Regions from separate parts of the Homo sapiens genome. Here regions 1, 2, 3 and 4 are each linked to region 5. Evidence: promoter capture Hi-C in 16 types of primary human blood cells and fetal thymus (Javierre and others, 2016). All regions are on one chromosome and are shown on one strand. Each heading gives the region's core, a stretch centred on a gene start or on the middle of the fragment in contact. The rest is flanking DNA. Distances are from core to core; before and after follow the strand shown.

The links. The method cuts DNA at HindIII sites, captures the fragments that hold promoters and counts their contacts. A CHiCAGO score of 5 or more calls a contact.
Region 1: a fragment that was not itself captured here is called in contact with the fragment with the promoter of MISFA in region 5 in 1 of 17 cell types (total B cells); the score reaches 7.9 in total B cells.
Region 2: a contact is called between a fragment that was not itself captured here and the fragment with the promoter of MISFA in region 5, in 3 of 17 cell types (total B cells, total CD4 T cells and naive CD8 T cells). The highest score is 6.8, in total B cells.
Region 3: a contact is called between a fragment that was not itself captured here and the fragment with the promoter of MISFA in region 5, in 1 of 17 cell types (erythroblasts). The highest score is 5.5, in erythroblasts.
Region 4: a contact is called between a fragment that was not itself captured here and the fragment with the promoter of MISFA in region 5, in 1 of 17 cell types (megakaryocytes). The highest score is 5.1, in megakaryocytes.

Annotation. Positions count from the first base shown.
Region 1 is chr11:18,115,347-18,118,046 of GRCh38, forward strand. It overlaps the pseudogene SAA3P. Among named protein-coding and RNA genes, the nearest start is that of SAAL1, 11 kb to the left of the region's middle. The HindIII fragment of the contact is 2,382 bases long and covers 209-2,590 here.
Region 2 is chr11:18,098,780-18,101,479 of GRCh38, forward strand. All of the region lies in intron 2 of SAAL1 (serum amyloid A like 1), which reads right to left. Among named protein-coding and RNA genes, the nearest start is that of SAAL1, 6.0 kb to the right of the region's middle. The HindIII fragment of the contact is 8,611 bases long and covers 1-2,700 here.
Region 3 is chr11:18,283,765-18,286,264 of GRCh38, forward strand. HPS5 (HPS5 biogenesis of lysosomal organelles complex 2 subunit 2) reads right to left here. Exons shown (of 23, transcript NM_181507.2): 20 at 1,582-1,695; 21 at 31-137. Among named protein-coding and RNA genes, the nearest start is that of SAA1, 19 kb to the left of the region's middle. The HindIII fragment of the contact is 1,553 bases long and covers 475-2,027 here.
Region 4 is chr11:18,241,297-18,243,996 of GRCh38, forward strand. The region is part of intron 3 of SAA2-SAA4 (SAA2-SAA4 readthrough); the gene reads right to left. It also overlaps a transcript of SAA2 not described here. Among named protein-coding and RNA genes, the nearest start is that of SAA4, 5.8 kb to the left of the region's middle. RefSeq lists an enhancer at 2,486-2,700 and a silencer at 2,506-2,700. The HindIII fragment of the contact is 1,216 bases long and covers 783-1,998 here.
Region 5 is chr11:18,598,477-18,601,176 of GRCh38, forward strand. It overlaps MISFA (mitochondrial sheath formation associated), which reads left to right and starts at 1,313. Exons shown (of 4, transcript NM_001355570.4): 1 at 1,313-1,521; 2 at 2,616-2,700. The coding sequence starts at 1,453. It overlaps LOC112268073 (a long non-coding RNA gene), which reads right to left and starts at 1,071. Exons shown (of 4, transcript XR_002957242.2): 1 at 955-1,071. The HindIII fragment of the contact is 4,225 bases long and covers 684-2,700 here.

The sequences.
Region 1 (2,700 bases), core at 150-2,649, 480 kb before region 5:
GTTAATCCTGCTCTGCTTTGGAACTTCTTTACGTATCTTGGGGTTTGTGTGTGTGTGTGTGTGTGTGTGTGTGTTAGTGTGTGTGTGTGTGTGTGTGTGTTAGCTTCTCTGTTAAGGGATAATGCTGCTTGCATCATAGGACTAAATGATGGAAACCAATTCATTAGTACATTTAAACAGTGCCTAGTACGTATTAAAATCTCAGCTAAGCTTGGTTGTTTTTATGGGGACGGTTGGCTCCGTTCAGCTTCCCCATGGACTCGCCTCACACTTTTGATCCACCTGCTTCCTGGCTTCCCAGGAGACATAGACATGAACTGTCCCAGATTTCCCACTAGGGGGCAGTAGAGCCCCACCGGTATTATGGGAACATGCACCCCTCAACTCCACATCTCTCTCATGGTCCTGCTGAAAAGAGGCAGCTCACACCTTATGCGACCTCGGCTGGAGGATCCTCATAGAAGAGTGTCAAAGCTGTCCAGAAAAGCATGAGGAACCACGCTTATGAAAAACCATGCCCCTTCTCTATCCATCTGTGGCATCACTAGCACCTTTGCCCAGTGGGGATGTGGCCTCTGCTCAGCTGCATCCTGGGGGCAGCCAGAAGCAGCCTCCTGCCCCCTATCCTGTGGACCTCACCTTGGCCAGCTGCCTTGAGGAATGTTAACCATCCTTGGCTGCTGACACCCAGGACCAGGGAGCAGAAAATGATGCCAGTGGAGAGCTTCATCCTGCTGCAGGGCCAAGGAAACACAACCAAGGATAATACACATTCTGTTTCAAGTTTTTATTTTTTGTAATGTTAGTCCATTCTTTCATTCCAAGAAAAAAACCCACTCGGTTTTACACACGCACACACACACACACACACACACACACAGGTGTATGTGTATAGATAAAAGATAGAAGGTCAGAGGGTCTACGTCTCCATTTCCATTTGTCTCATTGGAATCCCAGTATCTGACAGAAGAGGAGCAGTGACCCAGGATAAAGCAAATAGACAAAAGTCACACCATGTTTGAGAATCATTATTTTAGATTAGAGCCTGCCAAAATTAGGAATTATGCCTCTTTCTGGGTTCTGAGCATATTTTAGGCACAGTAAAATGAAAGTTATAAGGCAGATAGCTGTCAGAGGATTTCCCTGTCCCTTTGGTTCTTATCTAAGGCAATGCTAAGCAACATTTGAATATTCCCTACACAACTTCCATTCCTTGGAAAAGGTGGGATTCCCTGTGGTCAGTGTAGTATCTGAGCTGGCGTGGCTCACTTGGTCCCAGGAGTAGACAGTAGAAGAGGGGGAAGAGGAGGGGAGTTGTCAACCATCCACAGCCACTGGTCATGGTGTACTTGGAGGAGCTGCTTCATAAAGCAGGGCATGTGATGTCCAGACCTCCTTTTTCCTACTCTTCTTCAGGCAGAAATTGAGGGCCAATGATCACATCCTGTCACAATTATTTTACTCCCTTTGGAACCATTCAATGCTGGAAATCTACTTTCTCGTTTTATTCAAGTCATTCTCTTCTTTGATAGAAGTTGATATGGTTTGGATCTGTGTCCCCACCCAAATTTCATGTTCAATTGTAATTCCCAATGTTGGGAGTGGAGCCTAGAGGGCGGTGATTGAATCAGGAAGGCTGTTTCTCATGAAAGGTTTAACAGCATCCCCCTTGGTACTGTCGTCGTGATAGTGAGTGAATTCTTTTGAGATCTGGTTATTTAAAAGTGTGCAGTACCTCCCCCCTCACTCTCTTTTGTCCTTGCTCCCACCATATGAGATGCCTCACTCCCGCTCTGCCTTTGCCATATTGAAAGTTTCCTGAGGCTTCCCCAGAAGCAGAAGCCACTATGCTTCCTGTACAGACTAAAGAACCATGAACCAATATAACCTCTTTTCTTTATAAAGTACCCAGTTTCAGTCATTTCTTTATGGCAGTATGAGAACGGACTAATACAGAAGTATTAGAAAGCAAGTGGCGTGGAGACACTGGCTCATGCTTATAATACCAGCACTTTGGGAGGCTGAGGCAGAAGGATCACTCGAGGCCAGGAACTCAAGACCAACCTGGGAAACATAGCAAGACCCCATCTCCACTATATATCTGTATATATATTTTTTAAATTAGCGGGGTGTGGTAGTATGCACCTGTGGTCCCAGCTACTCAGGAGGCTGAGGCAGGAGGACTGCTTGAGCCCAGGAGTTGGAGGCTATGGTGAGCCATAATCACACCACTGCACTCTAGCCTGGGTGACAAAGTGACACACTGACTCACAGGAAAAAGAGCAAGAAAGCGAGTATGATTTCTAGATACCAAGAGGAACTCCTCACAGGGACTTTGACAAGCCTTGCCTGTTTTCTTCCTTTGTTACTTAATGTATTCTGCCTTCCGGGAAGGTACACGCAGTTTCTTATGGTGCCAAGCTGAGAATAATAGACAATAACGGCAGTCAGTTCTTTTCACTTGTTTCTCCTGAAAAAGAAAGATTTCCTGTCATGATATCAGAGTCCCCAGGCCTTAAAGGGATTTTCCAACAGTCTCTTACAAGTGACTACGTGTGCTGGTTTGCATGAGATCAGTGTCTATTGTCCAAGCTTAATAGTGGCACATCTTTTCATTGTCTACAATGGCCTGGATTGAACAGTAAATCAGATGGTAGCACTACTCTGATAACCTTGTGTGACCAGGCTGATTGAGAGGCC
Region 2 (2,700 bases), core at 103-2,602, 500 kb before region 5:
TGGGCAATTCTTTGCCACATGCAGAAATTTTTAAATTTAATGGTAATTCCTGGAGTAGCACAAGGGTGGCCTAACAATATCAACACCAACAGTAATAAAATTAACATTCATTGAACAAGTATTAAATGCCAGGCACAGTGAAGTGGCTTGCATGCTATCTCATTTAATTCTCAAAACAACTCTATCAACTAGTTATCATTGTTAGCCCCATTACACTCATAAGCAAACTGAAGTTTAAAAAGTGTAGCAACCTGCCCAAGATTATACAGTCTCAGCAGAGCAAAGCTAGGATTTGAACCCATGAGTCTGATTTGAGCCTATGGTCTTGTTTTTTAAAAGAGATGGGGGTCTTGCTATCCTGTCCATACTGGAGCAGTGGCTATTCACAGATTCACAGGCATTATCATAGCTCACTGCAGCCTCCAACTACTGGGCTCAAGTGATCCTCCTGCCTCAGCCTCCCAAATAGCTGGGAATACAGGCAAGTACCCAGCGAGACTATGTTCTTAACCAGCACAACATGCTACCTCTCAGGTATTCATCTATTCATTCATTACTCCCCAAATATTTTCTGAAAAACCTAATAGGCACTGTTTTAGGTTCTGGGGATACATCAGTGAACAAGCTAAATAAGGGCTCAGTCCCATGGAATTTTCATTCTAAAGAAATGAACAAACAATAAATATAAAACAACTAAACTACACAATTTCTAAATGCTACAAAGAAAATAAGATATGTGCTAGAAACCAAGATAAAGCGGGCTACTTTAGACATGACATTGAAAAGAAGGCATTTCAGAAGGGGTGACATTATGCTTTGATGAGAAGGAATTTAAATCCATCAGAGGACACATGTAACAGAGTGAAGCAATTCTGTGGGAACACCAAAACAAGACAGGTTAATTCTGACTGGAGTGTCTGGGGTGGCATCACAGAGGAGGTGACATTGAAGCCGGGCCATAAACAATGAGAAGGATTTTGCCAGCTGGAAGCCATTCTAAGCAGAGCGGCATGAATAGTGCCCATGGACACGTGAAAGTGCAGGAAGTATCTGGAGGTCTCTGGTCCTCGCACACTGAATTCATGGTTACAGAACGATAGGCGACAAGACTGAGATATAAACTCACCAGACTTTGCGCCAGGGACCTCAATTGTCAGTGGAGAGCTCAGTTCTGAGTGGTGCCTCAAGGGCACCTCTTGTAAGGGAGCAAAAGGAGGCCAAAGAACATGACTTTGCCCTGCACCAATAACCTCCTTCAAACAGTAGCGCTGTTTTCTCAATTTTAAAACTGAGACTTTCACCCTAAGAGTTCATTTAAAACACAGGTTTTATTTCTTTTTAAAAAAATTTGTTTAACCATAATTTATCAATAATTGTAGAATAGAAAGTAGATCTGAACAATACTCTCAACCAACCTGATCTGACATTGAGAATAAGATATTCCACCCAGCAACAGCAGAACACACATGCTTTTTAAGTCAACATGGTAAATATTTCAGGTTTACTTAAAACCATATTCTGGGCTATAAAACAAATCTCAACACATTTAAAAGGATTCAGTGTTCACCAACCACAGCAAGAGAAAGATAACTGAAACATTCCCAAATATTTGAAACTTACCTATAAACCAAAGAAAAAGTAAAGAATATTAGAAAGTATTCTGAACTTCTGCGGGCATGGTGGCTCACGCCTGTAATCCCAGCACTTTGGGAGGCCGGGGCAGGGGGATCACTTGAGGCCAGGAGTTCAAGACCAGCCTGGCCAACATGGCAAAACCCCATCTCTACAAAAAATACAGAGCGAGACTCTGTCTCAAAAAAAATTGTAAACACAGCATATCAGAAATTGTGGAATACTGGTAAAGCATAAATATTTAGGGAAAATTCTATAGTGCTTGATGTCTATCTTTAAAAAGAAAAGATTTCAAACTATAAAGTATGTGGACAACTGATTTTTGACAAAGACACAAAAGCAATTAGTGGAGAAAGGATCGTCTTTTCAACAAATGAACTTGAACAATTAAATATCCATAAGCAAAAAAATAAACTTCATCCATCCTTGCACCATATACTATACAAAAATCAACTCAAAATGGATCACAGACTTATATGTAAAACCTAAAATTATAAAACTTTTAGAAGAAAATGTAAGAAAACAACACAATTAAAAAGCAGGCAGAAGATTCAAACAGGTACTTCACCAAAAAAGATACACAGAGTACAAATAAACACATGAAAAGATGCTCATCATTAGGAATTAAGGAAGTCCAAATTATAATCACAATGAGCTATCATTACATACTTATTAGCATGGCTAAAATTAAGAAGACTGACCATACTAAGTGTTGGTGAGGTTGAGGAGAAATTGGACCTGGAATTATGTCTCATACACTGCTTGTGGTTATGTAAAATGGTAAAAAACTGCTTAGGAAAACAAATTGAAAGTTTCTTAAAAAGTTAAGCATACACCTACCGTATGATCCAGCCATGCCACTTGATATATGGTCTGGCTCTGTGTCCCCTCCTAAATCTGACCTTGAATTGCAATCCCCATAATCCCCACGTATCAAGGGCAAGACTAGGTGGAGGTAAGTGAATCACGGGGGTGGTTTCCCCCATGCTGTTCTCATGATAATGAGTGAGTCTCATGAGATCTGATAGTTTTATAAGCGTCTGGCATTTCCCCTGCTCGCACTTCTCC
Region 3 (2,500 bases), core at 1-2,500, 310 kb before region 5:
ACCAAGAGTAACCAGTTAGGATTGACATACCATTGTCCCCTTCCATCAGGCTCATATCATTCAGATACACAATATTGGTGAAGGCCTCTCTTCTTCTCTCCAGCTCCAAACAGAGAATTAGATATCCAGGCCAGAAACTTTAAAGAGACCGAAGTTGAAGAAAGGAATAAAAGGCCATGAATTTATCTGGAGCTGTGCTGCCCAAAACAGTAGACACAGTCACATGTGGCTATTTCAATTTAAATTAATTAAAAGTAAATAACATCTGAAAGTCAGTTTTTCAGTTAATATATTCACATTTCAAGTAGTCAATGGCTACATGTGGCTAGTGGCCACCATTGGACAGTTCAGTAGAATATCTCCACTATCACAGAAAGTTCTATTAGATGACCCTGATCTAGGGAAAAAAAAAAAACAAAAAACCTAGCAACAAATGCTGACATTTGAGGCCAAGCTCCAATTATAAGGCATTTAAGCTTTATTCAATTTATAAACTTTAAAATTCAACACAAACCTAGCATATTTCTTCTCCAAATATGTAAACCTTGGAAGTCTTCCTTGACTCTTCCCCCTCCTTCATTTGCTATATCCAGTATCAGCATGTCCCACTGCATTTTCCTTTGAAATGCCCACTGGATGTGCTCCTTTTGCTGCCCTACTAATCACCAATCCACTCATATCTGAATTACTCCAACAGCTTCCTAGCTGGCCTTCTGTCTCCAGCCTTCTCATATATGACATCAGAAATGATCTCTAGAAAGCTCCACTTTCATTACACAATTTTTGCACCAAGTAGTTCAGTCTAAAAGGGTCTCTACTGATAACTAAATTATTCTACCAGCTTTCAAGGTCCTGCATGATCTTGTCACCCACCACCTGGCCAGACTCAGCCCTCATTACAATGAACAAATATGTATCAAGTGCCTACCACTATACAAATTAGATATAGACATTATGAGGGAAAAGAAAGACACAAGTTGCTATCTCCAAAAGATTATAATCCAGTTGGAGCCATAAGCCAGTATCACCAGGCAATAAATAACTGACTGAAGTGTGACATGGATAATAAGCAATGCCAGTTTTCCACGCCCTTGCTCTGTTTCTCTCACCTAACTCACCCTCTCCTGGCTCCTTTATAAATACAAATCCTACCCAGGTTTTAGGTTTTACCTCCAAAATCTCACCTCCTCCTTGAGTCCTTCACCAGCGATGCTATTGAGCCCATTTTGATCTCTCTCTTACTGTATTAATTATAAAAGTCTATCAATTATAATTGGTATCACATAATCTGGTGCTTAATTAAATACTATCTACATGCCTGAGAACTGGGGCTGGCAACTAAGCAGAGGGAGTGGAGGGGAATTAGCTAAGGCTATTTAAAAAAAAAAAAAAAAGAAAAAAGCAAGAAATTTAAATGGAAAAAAGATGTTTAATTTACTATCACTTAAAACAAAAAGGTACTTTTAAATAGCAAAGAGAATCCCCAAATATTAATGTGTATTAATTCAGACCCTTAACTATAAAGTTGTTAACTGAAATGTTTCTAACCTTAACTTCAGTTTCTAAAAAATTCTCACTTACCCACAAGACCTGCAGATGTCTGTCATTTTCTCTTTGGTTATAAAATCTGCAGGAAGTTTAATTAGATGAAGGATCAGCTGACTGTAACCCCAGGAAAGCAAGTGTGAATGAGGCCTATGAAATGAAAAGGAATCAGTAAATTAGATAGGAAATAAACTCTAGAAAATGCTTATTTATCACCTAATAGGTAAGAATAGAGTTTAACTGCATTCTATTACTACATTTTAAAAACATTGCTATTTGGCTTTTGAAAACTTAAAAATAGCTATTTTTCCTATAACCTGTTTATTTTTAAAGATTAGATACTTTAGGTAATCAAAAGCAAAAGAAATAAATTCTTTTTTCTTCTTTTAATTCTATCATTCCATCACTCACAGATAACCACTGCATATCCTTCCAGACTTTTTGCTAGGAATATAAGACAGGCATTTGGGGGTCTTTTAAGAAGCTTCTCCTGGGAGGAAACGCAAGCAATAGTTCTGACACAAGTACCAGTGTGTACTTTAATTTTATTTTATTTTTAAAGTCCTAGATCAGGTTATGTCTAAAAATTCCTTGACACATTTTTAGGAAGAAAACACATACATACCTATCTCCCTAACCCCCACACCCAGTTTTATCCTCTCACAGGCTTAATCACCAAGGTCTCTTAATGTGGGCCCATGAAAAACCTGCAGGCGGTCAGCTGTGCAAAGTTTTGCATGACTGCATTTTTCTAAAAGGAATCATCAGATTCTTATAGGGTGACCCCAAAAAATTTCAGAACCACTAAGAAATATACTTAATCTCATTACTACCATGACTTGGGTCAGTCTCTTCCATAGCTATTTCTAAAGTGAGCCCAGAATGCCATATGTGAATAAACCAGTTCCATTCCAAAGGAACACTGGAGCTTAATCCTTAGAAATAAGACTCCTAG
Region 4 (2,700 bases), core at 141-2,640, 360 kb before region 5:
TAGTACAGCCTCTGTGGAAAGCAGTATGGAGATTTCCCAGAGAACTAAAAATAGAGCTACCATTTGACCCAGCAGTCCCATTACTGGGTACTACCCAAAGGAAAATAGATCATTATATAAAAAATATACCTGAATGCATGTATTTATCACAACACTATTATTCACAGTAGCAAAAATATGGGATTAACCTAAGTGTCTTAGGTTAATCAACGAATGATTGGAGGGGTGTGTGTGTATGTCTGTATACACATATATACACCATAGAATACTATTCAGCCATTAAAAAGAATGAAATCGTATCTTTTGCTGCAACATAGATAGAACTAGAGGCCATTATCTTAAGTGAAATAACCCAGAAAGTCAAATATCACATTTTCGCACTTATAAATGGGAGCTAAATAATGTGTACACATGGACATAGAAAGTGGAATAATGGACACTGGAGACTCAGAAAGATGGAGGGCAGAAGGGGGCCGAGGATTGAGAAATTACCTGACAGGTACAATGAACTCTACTTGGGTGATGGTTACACTAAGAACCCAGATTTCACCATTATGCAATCTATCAGTGTAACAAATCTGTACTTGTACCCCCTAAATCTATAAATAAATAAATGAATGAATATTTTAAATAACAATAATAAATGCTGAATGAACACATGGAAGCACATTTCTGAACGTTTGAAATAATTCCTAATTCAATGACATGTTTAAAAATAACAAGCAGCTCAATTTGCATGTAGCATGAGGCACATTAATTAGTCATAGGAGATAAGACTGAAAAGCTTGGATACCCTATTAGTCAGGGTTCTTGAGAGACACAGGACAAATAATTTATTTGTGTATGTATGTATGTATTTATTTATTGTAAGGAATTGGCTCACAAGATAATTGGGGCTGAGAAGTCCCACGATCTGCCCTCTGCAAGCTAGAAACTCAGGAAAGTGTAATTCAGTCTGAGTTCAAAGGCCTGAGAACCAGAGCAACTGATCACGTAAATCCAATTTGAGGGCAAGAGAAGATGAGAGGAGATGTCCAACTCAAGCAGTGAGGCAGGGGAAAAGGGAGGCAAATCTGTCCTTCCTCTATTTTTGTTCTATTCAAGCCTTCAACAGATTGGGTGATGCCCAGTTGCATTGAGAATAGCAATCTACTTTATTAAGTCCAATTCAAATGTTAATCTCCTCTGGAAACACCCTCACAGACGACCCCAGAAACAATGTGAATCTGGGCAGCCTCAAACCGACACAAAAATAAATATAACAGTAGGCTGGGCTCAGTGACTCATGCCTGTAATCCCAGCACTTTGGGAGGCTGAGGCAGGCAGATCACTTGAGCCCAGGAGTTCAAGACCAGCCTGGGTGACACGGCGAAACCCCATCTCTACAAAAAATATAAAAATTAGGCAAGTGTCATGGCGCACATCTGCAGTCCCAGTTATTCAAGAGGCTGAAGTGGGAGGATCTCTTGAGCCCCGGGAGGTCGAGGTTGCAGTGAGCCATGATCATGCCATGGCACTTCAGCCTGGATGAAAGAGGGAGATGCTGTCTCAAATAACGAAACAAAACAAAACACAACTATAACAAAGAGCAATGCAATTTCCCTTTCTCAAACTTTTCTAACAGAGAGAAGCATGTTAATTCTTACTGAGGAAAACCAAGTAATTAATAAAAGGTATTTGGGTGTGCCAGAGCATAGGTATTAGGTGTGACTTTACAAATTATAAATTCCTGGGTAAACCAAGCACCTTTTTCCTTGGATACAAATTTCGATTTAAAAATTTTTTTCTTGTTTTTTTTATACTTTTTCTTCCTCTGAACCTATGGACTATATTGAATTAAATTTTTTTTCAAATTATAGATTTCAAGAAGGGGAGTGATTTGGTCCTTTACAGACGGATGAATGAATTTCTGTATCCAAATGTTGCTTCAGTTAATTATTTCTAGTAATAATATGTTGATTGCAAAGTTTTGAATATCTACAAAGACTAGACTTTGAAAGCTTGCTTTATTTGACTTTGAAAGCCATTCTTTCTCTCATCCTCCCTTTCTCTCCCTCCTGCCCCCCAAAATCTACAACTTCAGTACTTGTGACAGAAATCTAATTGTAAGCATTTACAATTGCTATTGTAATAATAGCATTACAGTCTTTTTTTACAACTTGGGGTCAACTCAGACTTTACTAGACTGAACACTAATCTCAACAGTGCATTGAGTCTGCTCCCATGAGCCAATCTTCCACGCCTCTCTCCATCTTATTTATCTTGCCCTTGCCTTGTTTTGGCATTGGCACATCTTTGAGACTCAGACTCAAACCTCCTATACCTCCTATACCTACACTTCTATTAGTGTCTTTTGATGAGAACTGTATGAGAAAGTTCTGTTGTAAATAGTTCTACTTTATATCCATACATTTTCTTCCTCCTTGACAAATAAATTTGTCTTTACTCTGTAAATATAATTTTATAACTAGTCTTCTCACCTTAGGAGTCCTCCTCAATCCTTTTTCAGAGAAAAGGGGTATGCCAGTTATCAGTTTCTTTATTTTCAGCTCCACACCCACCCCTTTGTCCTATTTGTGATGCTGGAGCTGGACCCTGTGAACATTTCTCCTTTGCCAGTTGGGCATGATGTTAATCTTCACCCATAGAGGGCGCTAGAGGGCCAAGCAGGAGATGAAGACATCTTTTCCTGTTCTTTTG
Region 5 (2,700 bases), core at 63-2,562:
AATGGTCATTAACTCAGCAGTGCGGATATTAACCCTAGAGTAAAGGCTGCTCCTGGCCTATCATAAAGCTTCAAACAAGCCTCAGAAGAATCAAACTGATCGCAAGTAACTTAAGTGCACCTTAGAATAAAATTTAACACTGTTGAATACAACAAAATCCAGCACTCGGCAATAAAATTTACCATGTTCAACATCTAATCAAAAGTTGTAAGACATTTAAAGAAGCAGGAAATATCACAACAGGCCAGGCGCGGTGGCTCATGCCTGTAATCCCAGGACTTTGAGAGGCTGAGGCGGGTGGATCACCTGAGGTCAGGAGTTCGAGACCAGCCTGGCCAACATGGTGAAACACCATCTCTACTAAAAATACAAAAATTAGCCAGGCGTGGTGGCGGGTGCCTCTAATCCCAGCTACTTGGGAGGCTGAGGCAGGAGAATCACTTGAGCCCAGGAGGCGGAGGTTGCAGTGAGCTGAGATTGCACCACTGCACTCCAGCCTGGGCGACAGAGCAAGACTCTGTCTCAAAAAAAAAAAAATTGTAGAGATGAAAAATACATTAAATGTCCATGATGTTGTAGCAGAAAAGCAAAAAATATCTTTGGTGACCTCTGAGAGGGTGTCTAATAGTGGGGTGGGGCTAGAAGTCAGAATGTAATGCATGGAAGAGGCGTAGATTGGAAAAAGCTTTGAGTATGGACCACTTGTTTAGGAAGTTTGGTCATAAAAGGAAATTAAGAAATAAGACAGGGAAGGAGCCACAGTATCATCTGGAAGTTTTTTTGAGGAAAGGACAGGGGTACCTGTGGCTTCATGATGGCCAAGAAAAGAGAATCAATGGAGAGGAACTAATCCAAGGTGATGAAGATGTGGATATACCATCATGCTGAGGATCCCCTTGACATGGGGAGAGGAGGTTTTGCAGGGACAGAAATAGAGACATCTGTCTCATTTACCTGTAATTCAGTTTGTTTCGTTCACATGTCGTACACCTAGCAGCAAAACACCTTTCCAAATCTCTGCCTCTAGTGTAAAGAGCCCAGCTGCCCAAGAGGCAGCTGAGTCCTAAGTCTTGGCCCTGATCTGGAGCATCAGCTATGTGCTGTAGTGCGGGTCACTTAGGCTGTAGTCTAAGCCTTAGTTTTCTGATTAGTGAAATGGGGTTAACAATAATGCCTACTTCATAGTGTTGCTGTTTGCTGCTCAGCTGCTGGTCTGGGGGCAGTGTCTCTGGTGTGTTTTGAGTCTGGGCCATATGGTCAATGATGTCACAATGCCCTACTAGATTTCAGCTTCTCCACTAGGGAGTTGTGGATCCTTTGGAGCCAAAGACTCGAACAGACATGCGAGACCTCTACCAACTGAAGGTTTCGTGAGCGCACTCCTTTGCCAAGATCTTGGTGAATAGTCTTTCACTGTGCAATTTTATCTTAGAAATTGTTTTACGTTTGATCATGATTGTGCTTGGCTGGATGTTTTTTGTTGGACTTGTGTGTTACATGGGCACGTTTCCAGAGTTGATGGTAAGTAATGGCTCTGCCTGTAAATCCCTGGTGGTCAGTCCTGTGCTGGCTCATCTTCCTGTCTGGGTTTTCTGACCAAATGGGAAAGATAGTTGAGGTCTCACCACTAACTGGAAGTCAGAATGTGATGGGAACAAAGTTAGTGTCCCAGGCTACCGGGCTACTTCCCATCCCACTAGGGACATCCTTTTTTATTTTTTATTTATTATTATTATTATTTTTTGAGATGGAGTTTTGCTCTTGTTGCCCAGGCTGGAGTGCAGTGGCGCGATCTCGGCTCACTGCAACCTCCGCCTCTCAGGCTCAAGCGATTCTCCTGCCTCAGCCTCCTGAGCAGCTGGGATTACAGGCATGCACCACCACGCCTGGCGAATTTTGTGTTTTTAGTAGAAACAGGGTTTCTCCATGTTGGTCAGGCTGGTCTCAAAGTCCTGACCTCAGGTGATCCACCCACCTCGGCCTCCCAAAGTGCTGGGATTACAGGCATGAGCCACCACGCCTGGCTGGGGACATCCTTTTTTTTTTTTTTTTTTTTTTTTTGGAGACGGAGTCTTGCTCTGTCGCCCAGGCTGGAATGCAGTGGTGCGATCTCGGCTCACTGCAAGCTCTGCCTCCTGGGTTCATGCCATTCTCCTGCCTCAGCCTCCCGAGTAGCTGGGACTACAGGCTCCCACCACCATGCTTGGCTAATTTTTGGTATTTTTAGTAGAGACGGGGTTTCACTGTGTTAGCCAGGATGGTCTAGATCTCCTAACTTCGTGATCCGCCTGCCTCGGCTCCCCAAAGTGCTGGGATTACAGGCGTGAGCCACTGCGCCCGGCCAGGACATCCTTTTAAGTCTTTTTTTGTTTCCCCCTCCCTTGCATATATAGCTGTACTTGTTTCAAAGCACTATGGAATTTGCAAGGGGTCTGCTGGAGACCGTATTTGACTTGCGGATTGCAGGCCAAGTGGATCAGTGGTTATTGGTAGGAAGGGGGACGGTAGGGATTGGTGGGACCTTTTAGCAGCCCTTCTGGTCACCACACAGAGTGGTTACCCACTGGGCCAATGAGTAGAGCCATCTCTGCCCTCAAATTTTCTTTCTGATTCAGCCTCCAACTCTGAAGTGGCAGGAGAGGTGGCCTGTTCAGGAGAGCAAAACACAACTGAGGAGGCGGGCTTTAGGTGAAGATCTGC